Regions from separate parts of the Homo sapiens genome. Here regions 2 and 3 are each linked to region 1. Evidence: promoter capture Hi-C in 16 types of primary human blood cells and fetal thymus (Javierre and others, 2016). All regions are on one chromosome and are shown on one strand. The core of a region is centred on a gene start or on the middle of the fragment in contact, and the rest is flanking DNA. Distances in the headings are between cores, read along the strand shown. Region 1 holds the start of BCAS2 (BCAS2 pre-mRNA processing factor). Region 2 overlaps LINC01765 (long intergenic non-protein coding RNA 1765). Region 3 holds the start of PTPN22 (protein tyrosine phosphatase non-receptor type 22).

Region 1 (3,631 bases), core at 1,083-3,582:
ATTAAATAATCAGTAAACTAATTACAGGAGAATCACTTGAACCTGGGAGTTTACTAATTAAATCATCAGTAAACTAATTACAAAGGTATTTAAGAGAGAAGGAAAAAAACTGGCAAAAGTATTTTAAAAAGTCTGTGATTGAATGCAGTTATCTGAAACCTTCAGAAATCAGTCCAATAAGGAAGCATTACTGTACTTAGTTCTTAATGTGGTTAACATCTACACCTAGGTACAAATATTTAGAAAAAGCATAGGAAAACACGTTCATAGGAACATACGTCTTCTACTTAAAACTCAGCCAAGGCTGGGCATGGTGGCTTACACCTGTATCCCAACACTTTGGGAGGCTGAGGTGGGTGGATCACTTGAGGCCAGGAGTTCAAGACCAGCCTGGCCAACATGGTAAAATCCCGTCTCTACTGAAAATACAAAAATTACCCAGGCATGGTGGCAGGCACCTGCAATCCCAGCTACTCGGGAGGCTGAGGCAGGAGAATCACTTGAGCCCGGAAGGTGGAGGTTGCAGTGAGCAGAGATGGCACCACTGCACTCCAGCCTGGGTGACGTAATGAGACTCCGTCTCAAACAAAAACAACAACAAACTTAACTAACAATTTTTTCATGTTACTTTAATGTAAATAATATCTTTTTTTTTTTTTTTCCCTTTGAGACAGGGTCTCACTCTATTGCCAGGCTGGAGTGCAATGGCATTATCATGGCTCACTGTAGCAGTCTTGAACTCCCAGGCTCAAGTGATCCTCCCACCTTGGCCTCCTGAGTAGCTGGGGCTACAGGTGCATGCCATCATGCCTGGCTAACTTTTTAATTTTTCTTTTGTAGAGAAAGGGTCTCACTATGTTGCCCAGGCTGGTCTCAAGTGATCCTCACACCTCAGCCTCCTAAAGTGCTGGGATTACAGGTGTGAGCCACCACACCCAGCTAAATACTGCCTTTTAATAATACAATCCTTTCATAAATAAACGATTAGGTATAATGGGAAAAAATCCTCCAAGCTGTACATACTGAAATACTTGAATCCAATAATTTAGAAATGATATCTTACATTTCATTTAGCTAACTAGACCCTAACTAGAATCCTGGGTGTACTTCAAGGTTATACATTTAAAATAGTATCATACTCAATGTGTGGAGTAGAACAGCATCTGACTCCTTAGGCAATCATGGACACTCCCTTCTCTAATCCTCTTGTCCTTATACATACCCTCCGCTATAGGTCCTTTACATATTATTACACATTTATACATACTATTGTAAACTTTTTGTTTTATATATCTAGCTCCTCACTGTATTGTATTTTTCTGTATTCAGAAACCCTATCTTTTTTGGAGAGGATGTTTGTCTTAAATAAAGAAAAGAAAAATTAAAAGAAAACAAAATATATTAAAAAAGAAACCCCATATATCTCTATGATCTCAGAATCTAGAATGGCACCTAGCACTTGTAAAGTATTCATATCAGTGAAAATTATTGCCTACATTAATCAGAAATGTGTTAATAAAAACATCGGATAGATTACAGAAAAAAGGAGAAGGCTGAGAAAAAAGTAGTATACACTTGGATATGGTTTGTCCTTTCAGTCGTATCACATACATTTGGTAAATAACTAGACTTTAATATGCCACTCTCCAGTGGTTCTAAAGAGCTTAGGTAATTAGGCTTATACATATTAAAAAACCCTAGATCACTTGCTGTAGAGTGAATCTTGGCAGGAGAGGGTCCCTTTGAGAATTTACGCATGGATCCTATCTCAAAGAATGGTAGCCACAAATTTTTGCATTAAGTGAGTTGTGGAGCCCCAGAAAGTCTTCCTATGGATCTTAGAATAAGAACCTCGGAGAAGACTTATCTATCTAGTTGTTTTCAATAGACTGACACCTATACAGTAGGTAAGTAGTAGCTATGCAGGCAATGGTTAAAACTGGAATTTAAAGCTCTCAATCCAAAATAAAGGTTCACAGGAATTCTCGTTCACACCTAGGCTCAAGACATACTTACTTCAAAGGCAGAATAATCCGGGGCTGTCAGGTAGCTCAGGTAGTTCTTAGTAGGTCGGTATCTGCGAGTTTCCTCCTCCACCAGCGCTGCAGCCTAAGAAAGAGAATAGGGACCAGGGTAGAAGTGGCAAATTGTAACATGTTTCTTTCAGTACCGAGCCAGCTAGCAGTGAGTCAGCTACAAAGACACCCCGCACTCACCGCTTCCCGCACACCAGGGGCTTCATAACCTTGATCAAAATACGGCAGCGCATCCACCACAACCTCTCCAGCCACCAAACCTGTGCCCGCCATTCTGAGGACCTCAGGTTTGCCTGCGTTTTCTGCGTCTGCGTAAACTCAGTTATATTTAATTACGCCGGCGCCTGACACTGATGTAATCACGTTCCCTCCGTATTGACGTTAGTGCATGCTCAGTTGCTAATTTTGAAGGCGGGTCCGCCCGGTATCTAGAAATTGCCGGGCTGGTTTGTTTTGGGCGGACGTGACGTAACGTCTTGGCTTGTCTGCGTCAGCGAAAGGCCTCAATTTCCTGTCCTCTGCTTACTGCCCCTTTTTTTGCCTGCGAATGGCGGCGATTTGAAGTTGGGGCTTTTCGTTTCCTCCAAAACATTGATATCTGGAAAGGGAGCCCCTTAACACTTTTGGAGGGAACTGGCTGCAGCATTTGGCGGGGAGAGATAAACTGGTTTCCCACCTCTGCTTACTCCCACCTTCTCCCCTTAATCTTCTCTTCCTCTGTGCGAGACTTTTTTCCTTTTTTATTGTAGACACAGGGTCTTTGTTCTGCTGCCCAGGTTGGAGTGCAGTGGCGTGATCATAGCTCACTGCAGCCTCAACCCCCCGGGCCCAAGCGATCCTTCCACCTCAGCCTCCCGAGTAGCTGGGCCTAGAGGTGCACACCACCATGCCTGGCTAATTTTTAATTTTTTTTGTAGAGATGGAGCCTTTCTATGTTGCCAAGCCTAGCCTCGAACTCCTGGCCTCCCAAAATGTGGGGAATACAGGCGTGAGCCACTGCACCCCGGGTCATTCCTCTTTTACTTCCTTGCTGTACCCCAACTATCCTTCCCCCTCGGTGCCCTTAAAACCTTTGCATTGGGTAAGTACATTTTTTAAAGAGACTCTAGAATTGGGCGCCAGTCTCCAATTAAAATTGTGAAGCTTTATGGTCTGCGTATCAAAAGGAACCTCAGTTCCTTAAAAATCCTGTCATTTTGCCTTTAGGACTTAACGGTAATAGAATGGCATTCCTCACTGCCTCCGAACCACTCAAGCTGCTGCCCATGCACTCTCTTCTGCATGGCTCCTGGACTAAGCAGCCTCCCTTTGATTAAGCAGGTAAAAACCAAATAAAGTTGTCAGACTATATGCCCTGCCCAGTGTGCAGTCTAGACCCAGCCTTTGTCTGCCAAGAGCCTGGAAATGTTGACCTCCGTTATTAAGCCTGGTCAGTCTAAGACTAATTCTTATTACCGAAGTACCATTAGGTAAATGTGCTAGCTATAGATTTAAGTGACATAAAAGATCTTAAAGAATTCTCCAAGGGATCTGTGGGGGGTTTATGTATTTATTCATTAAAAGATCTGTAAACAACATTTTATACAAATCTTGAT
Region 2 (3,477 bases), core at 1-2,500, 520 kb after region 1:
TTTGACCAAATATTTGGGGCCCCCCTGGCCTAGTCAAGTTGACATGTAAAATTAACCATCACAGAGAACAAAAGAAATGTAAAACAGGTAGACTAAATTGAAAACATACAATGAGATGGTAAATTTATACCTAAATATATCAGTAACTTCTGTTGAAAATAATCAAGAAAAAGAGAGATTGCACAAATAACCAATGTCAGGAAAAAAAAAAGATTAATAACTCCAGATCTGCAGAGATTTAGATAATAATAGGATAATATAAACAACTGCAAATAAATTTGAAAGGTAGGTAAAATGGACTGATTCCTTTGAAAAGTAACATCAGAATGCACTCAATGAAAATTAGAAGTTTGAATAGCCTTGTAAGCATTAAAAAATTGTATATGATCTTTTCACAAAAACAAAAAAGTCCAGCCCAGATTGTCCTTCAGTGGTGTGTTCTGCCAAACGTTTAGGTATGAAGTAATTCCAATCTTATGCAAACTCTACCAGAGAGTAGAAAAAGAGGGAGCATTTAAAAAATACTAAAATTATGAGACTTGTAGCAAGATCTCGAAACCTAAACCTGAAAAAGACAGGACAGTAATGAAAAGGAAAATTATAGGTCAATTTCACTTATGAACATAGATGCAAAAATCTTCAGCAAAATAATAGTCAACAAAATAGTAATATCTCACTTATTTGTGGGATCTAAAAATGAAAACAATTGAACTCATGGACCTATAGAGTAGGAGGATAGTTACCAGAGGCTGGGAAAGGGAGTGGGGAGTTGGAGGGGAAGGTAGGAATAGTTAATAAGTACAAAAAAATATAGAAAGAATGAAGAAGACCTACTATTTGATAGTACAATAGGGTGACTATAGTCAATAATAACTTAATTGTACATTTTAAAATAAAGAGTGTAACTGGATCGTTTCTAACTCAAAGAACAAATGCTTGAGGGGATGGACACCCCCTTCTCCATGATGTGCTTATTTCACATTGCATGCCTGTATCAAAACATCTCATGTACACCATAAATATATACACCTACTATATACTCTCCCAAATTTAAAAAGGTATGCATTAATACATAGAAAGCCTAATACATCATGACTGTATAGGGCAGGAATACAATGTTGATTTACATTTCAATCAGTATAACCTACCACATTAATAAAGGAGAAAAATCTGTGGTCATCTCAGTAGATACAGAAAAATCTTTTGATAATTCAACATCGATTTGTTGTAAAGATTCTAGGCAACTAGGTATAGATGGGAATTCATTGCTACAAGATAACATTTTGGTGACAAGACACATTCCTGCTATCACTACTTCTACTCATCACTGTACCAGAGAGCTCAATAAGAGAAATTAAATGTATAAGGCTTAGAAAGAAAGAAAGAAAGTTGTCATTATTTGCAGATGATCTAATTGTGTGTTTATTTTGATTTTCTACATAAAATAATAGGTTACTAGAATTAATAAGAGCGCTTATTAAATTTTCTGATGATAAAAATAAATGTGAGAATATCTTTTCATTAGATCAGTAATGAATCAGAAACTAAAATTTAAAAGAACATAGCTTAAAATAGCATAAGAAGTATCTATTCTCTAGAAAAGACATGTAAGAACTTTACAGGGAAAAATTAAAGTCTTTGTTGGGTAATGTTAAGGAAGCTGTTAATGAATGGAGAGATATGCTAAGTTTGAATTAGCAAAACCGACATTTAAAAAATGTCAATTCTCTCCAATTTGATGTATAGATTCAAAGCATTTACAATAAAAAATCTTCACAAAGATATTTTTTGTAGGTTTTTCATGGCAGCATGTGACAAGATGATGCTGAAAAATTTATATGGAAATTCAAAGGATCAAGAATAGCTGAAACATCACTGAAGAAGAACAAAGTGGGCTGAACTCGCTCTACTAGATATCAAGATTTATAAGCAACTACAGTATTTAGGACAGTGTAGTATCGGCACTGGGAGAGAAAAAAAAAAAAAAAAACTAAAAGGAAAAAGAGCCCAGAGACTGACTTTTGTGTATGTGGACAGTTTGTTTATGATGAAAGTACCACTGCTATGCACTGTGGGAAAATGTCCTCAAAGAATGACACTAGGGCAACTGGGTATCCCCATGTAAAAACAATTAACCCTAATCTCACATCACACACAAAAATCAACTCCATTTGGGGTATATACTTAAATGGAAGGTAAAACTATTAATATAAAGTTTATAGAGAATATTGTTTATTGCTTTTTTGGCCCCGATTCTTCTCTCCTCCCTGTGCCCATGCCCTTTCCCAGGTGACTTTGCAGTTCCTCTCATAAAAGGGGCAGATTATGTTTTTCCTCCCTGGACTCTATGTTTGGCTTAAGTCCTTTGGTGGAAGTGACAGTGTGCCATTCTGGGCCTAGGCCTCAAGGGACCTTGAACATCTCTGCTTGCCCTCTTCCACTTATGCCATCCCCATGAGAAGGATATGCCTGATCCAGCCCACTGACCTTGACAGGGAGATGAGAGACACATGGGTAGAGTTCTCTGGTGAAGCTGCCCCAGCCAAACCCAGCCTGGAGCCAAGCCCAGCCAAGATAAAGTGAGCCCATCCTGGACCAGCTGACCCAGGCACCTGAATGAGAACAAAATAATTTTTGTTTTCCATCATTGAGCTTTGGGTACATTTGTTAGGCAGCAATAAACTAACATCAGAAGGTAATATAGGAAAATATCTATATGACTTCCAGATAGGCAAATGTGTTTTAAGCTAGTCACAAAAGTACCTGCTCACCATAAAGAAAAAGAGTTTTTATGTTAAAATTAAGAATCCTCATTTATCAGAAAATACTGTTAAGAGAGTAAAGAGGCTTGCCATAAAATGGAAGATGATATTTGCAACCATTCAACAAAAAACCAGTATCGAGAATATTTTAAAAATTCCTACACAGAATTAAGAAAAGACAGATTATTTTACATTTTATATAAAAGTCCATCCACCTTTTATATGTACCTGTTGCACATAAAAATGAGCAAAAAGACTTGAAAGAGTATTTTGCAAAAGAGTAAATCCACCTGGACAATAAACATACGATAATGTTCTGAATCCCAGAAACCAGGGAAATGTAGATTAAAGTCAACAACAAAGTGGTAGCTTAGACCCCAAGATTAAAACAGTGTCAGTGAGAAAATACCAGTTACAGAGATAGTCAGGAACCTTTAAGAAACAAGATGCTGGATGTTACATTGAAAAATATGTGCTGAGCTGTGCTGCTCTGTAACTACCTGCCCTGTTGTGAATCTGACCCACAATGCCTGTGAGAGTGGTGTTTTCTCTGGAGGATTCAAAGGAAAGGACAGTTGCCTTCTTCCTTGTGTTGCTACAGGGCAGAGAGAATACTGCAGGAGGTGAGGGGCAGAACAGAGTTTATAACCTCAACTGCAGTGTGAAAATGCTGGTTACCTCCACCATGTCTTACGGTGTAGCAGCCATATGTTTT
Region 3 (3,465 bases), core at 616-3,115, 710 kb before region 1:
CTTATCTCCTTTCAGGTAACTCTACCAGAGGGGCTCAGACTGATCAGCCAGTGGCAGTGAGAGCACATTTTTCATAGTACCACAAGATTATCCATGTTGAGCTGACATCGGAGTTCCTATCATAATATCTAATCACTCAATAATATCTAATTACTCAAGACTTTCAGAGTGTTTTCACATCTGCTATCCGGTACCAGAGTGTTAGCTCCAGGAGGCAAAGGTTTTGGTTCTTTTTGTTCACCGCTGTATTTTTAGTGCTTAGAACTGAACTTGGTACATACTAAGTGCTCAATAAATGGTACTCAATAAATGACCACATTTAATGATTGTTATTGATATTTAATCATCACAACAATCCTGTGAGGATAGGTAGGACATGTATTATTATCCCCATTTTATAAGTTAGAAAACAGAGAGATTTAAGAACATGTCAAATACTTCATAATTTGGTGAAAAAAAATCATGATTTAATTTCAGGTTTGTACTTCAGTTCCCCTCTTTCCACCCATTTCTTCACAACTGAAGAGCTAAGGTTTAAAATTCTTATATCTCTGAAACGCCAGCTGTAAGCATTCTAAAATACATGATAGGTACTATTAGACACCCTATGTTATCTGATATCTCAGCTTGTAGGGTGAATGAGGCCTACCCAGCTGCCATTGCATCAATAATCACAGTTCTCTCAAAGGAGATTCACTGTTCTTCTGGGTAATCTAATCCACCCAACCTGAAGCTACCTTGTACTCATGTTTCTCTCCTTGACCTACACTTGTCTCTACTCTCCATCCTAGCCATTCCACTTCTCCAAGCAAAAGAAGTTAAGGAAGCCCTGTTATTGAAAAAACACATGTTATAATATATTTTTCATATGAAAAAGAAAAGAAAAATGATGGCCAGACATAGTGGTTCATGCCTGTAATCCCAGCACTTTGGGAGGCAAGATGGGAGGATTGCTTGAAGCCAGGAGTTCGAGACAAGCCTGGGCAAAAAAGCAAGGCTCGTATCTACAAAAAAGAAAAAAACAATTTTTTTTTAAATTAGCCAGGCATGGCGATACACACCTGTGGCCCCAGCTACTCAGGAGGCTGAGGCAAGAGAATCACTTGAGGCCAGGAGTTCAAGGCTACAGTGAGCTGTGGTTGCACTGCTGCACTCCAGCCTGGGTGACAGAGTAAGATTCTGAATCTTAAAAAAACAAACAACAACAACAAAAAAAACTGTGGCAGTGGGTAGTTTTGGTGCTCTTCAAAAACCTTTGTCAACCAAATAGAATCCCAGAGGGGAGGCTAAAAATGTAATATTGCATGAAAAGTTAACATTGGTCTCTTTCTTCTTAATATTAATTAAAATTAGTAATATAAAGCATAAACCACAACTTAGATACCTGGGGAAATCTGGATGTTCAATTAATATTAGTGTTTTTACATCTGGAGTTGTATATGTCTTCTGTAGGATTCCTAACCAAACTCCAAAGAACTAGCAAACAAAATATTAAAACCAGTAATTTTGAGAGAATACCTGAAATACATGCAAACCACTCAGAGAAGTCAAACTTTTTTTTTTCTGTCTTCCCCGCCAAGGTCTCATATTTACTTTATCCCAAGAGCAATTTGGTCTCGGAAAATTGGACCCCCATAGTCAGTTAAATAGTGTATGTAACTACCCTGAGAGGGTCACATACAGGACTCACCAGAAATTCATTGGCAAACTCCTCTTTAGTAATTTTCTTGCTTTGGGCCTCATCCAGGAACTTCTGCAGAATTTCTCTTTGGTCCATGCTGCAGAGCAAGAAAAATAGTCTATAAGTAGGTTGAGGGAGGGCATGTCAAATGTGTGTCATGGCCGAGACACCTCCAAAAAGCCACTGCTGCCGCCTGAGCAGAGCATGCTGAAGGCTGTGGTTTACTGACTTCATCACAAGCCCTAGAGGAAATTAGTACGTAACCACCTTCTGTGGTCACATAACACAGCCATCATCTCACTCCAGGGCCCTAGTGCCTTCCTTCTCAGCAAAGGAACCTGGTTACAATTCAAATTTTTAACAAACAAGAGGCTAACTAGAACGTAAAGTGTGGTCTGCTTAACTGAGATTATTCCATTCCATCACCCATATGCAAAACTCACCTTTCTTCTTGCCTCCCAGAGAAAGAACAGAATTACAGGTCTCCTGAATGAGTTCTGTCTCTCCCCATTTTCCCAGTGAGCACAAGGGCCAAGTTGACACCTTCTGTTTCCTTATGTCCCAAATGAACTCTGCAAAGTTCAGTTAGGCCCAGGAAAGAAGACAGACACTGTTTAGAGTGAGTGACATGTCTTCTACCCGGACTGTTCATCGAAAGGTTTCTTGTCAGTGTGATCAATGAGAAACTTCTGTTCATCACAGAAGGTATTTTTATTCATAACTTTTAAGTCTGCTATATATACCTCAAACTCCCTTTTGAATGAAGCAAAGTCAGATGCTTCTGACAGTCTGTGTCTCTCCCAGGACTGGGGAAGTGCTGACCTCCATTAAGGGAAGTGTTGATTTCAGCACCTCTTCAACCCTCCCAGTAACCTTTGAAGCTTCACTTGGGTTCTGGATATAAAGACTAAGAGTGTTGGTCTATATAGGATCTAGAGCAAGTGGCCCCCACAAGGAGCACCTGACCAGACAGTTAGCTCAATACCCTGCATATGTAATGCTGGTAAACTGTGATGGAACAAAAAGAAAGTAAAATCAACCACCTTGCTGACAACATTGTAACTTTTAGGGCAGAAAGCCTGAAGAACTGTTTCTAAAGAACACATTTCTACTCTGCAACCAATGTCTTAGGAAATAAATTTGTTTCAGGAAGTTATGCTGTGCCTGTGGCATTTTGGCCCTGAAAGGCAGGCTCTTCTAGAAAAACTTTCCACATTTGAGCTTGCATAACCTCTCAATGGGTACAAGTCTACCCAAGTGCCTAATTCAGTGTGAGAACATCCAAAAATCAGTATATCATCTTTATTGAAGGCAGAAGTTCAACAAATGTTAACAAAATTAGTCTTGATCCTGAAGAAAACTGGGAAATGTGTTGTTAGGACTTCCTCTATTTAAGATATTAGCAATCCTTTCTGTTTTGCAACATTATTCAAACTTCCTTCAGGATATCATGATTCTGAACACTGCTTAATCTGAACATTAAAGATACTGCATGCTCTTTACTAAGTACTGCAAAAAAAAAAGAAAGATCATCGAGATATCTTGGTTATAGACAACTTAAAGACAATATTTCAAATTAAGAAACTCAATCCCAGTATACATAAATTAAAATAAACCCTCATTCTTCAGCAATATTTGTTAGGAATAGTATATTTCTTAAATTATCCCCATCTAGAATTAAGAGAGAATTTCTTGCTGCTCTAAGTAACGTGATGTTTACTTTGGCTATTTTAAAACATAAAATATGGGAAATCTTTGATTTATAAAAATACAAAATTTCAAGT

Evidence for each region. Contacts are between HindIII fragments. The CHiCAGO score rates a contact against its expected background, and 5 or more counts as called.
Region 2: a fragment that was not itself captured here is called in contact with the fragment with the promoter of BCAS2 in region 1 in 1 of 17 cell types (fetal thymus); the score reaches 6.8 in fetal thymus.
Region 3: the fragment with the promoter of PTPN22 here is called in contact with the fragment with the promoter of BCAS2 in region 1 in 2 of 17 cell types (total CD8 T cells and naive CD4 T cells); the score reaches 5.4 in total CD8 T cells.

The regions. Positions count from the first base shown.
Region 1 is chr1:114,579,283-114,582,913 of GRCh38, forward strand. It overlaps BCAS2 (BCAS2 pre-mRNA processing factor), which reads right to left and starts at 2,333. Exons shown (of 7, transcript NM_005872.3): 1 at 2,217-2,333; 2 at 2,017-2,109. The coding sequence starts at 2,309. It overlaps DENND2C (DENN domain containing 2C), which reads right to left. Exons shown (of 21, transcript NM_001256404.2): 21 at 3,568-3,631. It overlaps LOC105378914 (a long non-coding RNA gene), which reads left to right and starts at 2,561. Exons shown (of 3, transcript XR_947719.4): 1 at 2,561-3,117; 2 at 3,243-3,356. The HindIII fragment of the contact is 8,807 bases long and covers 1-3,177 here.
Region 2 is chr1:115,100,454-115,103,930 of GRCh38, forward strand. LINC01765 (long intergenic non-protein coding RNA 1765) reads left to right here. Exons shown (of 2, transcript XR_947722.3): 2 at 1,795-2,228. Among named protein-coding and RNA genes, the nearest start is that of LINC01765, 2.5 kb to the left of the region's middle. The HindIII fragment of the contact is 6,588 bases long and covers 1-3,477 here.
Region 3 is chr1:113,869,847-113,873,311 of GRCh38, forward strand. PTPN22 (protein tyrosine phosphatase non-receptor type 22) reads right to left here and starts at 1,866. Exons shown (of 21, transcript NM_015967.8): 1 at 1,691-1,866. The coding sequence starts at 1,777. All of the region lies in intron 3 of AP4B1-AS1 (AP4B1 antisense RNA 1), which reads left to right. RefSeq lists enhancers at 1,004-1,053, 1,612-1,871. The HindIII fragment of the contact is 7,976 bases long and covers 1-2,560 here.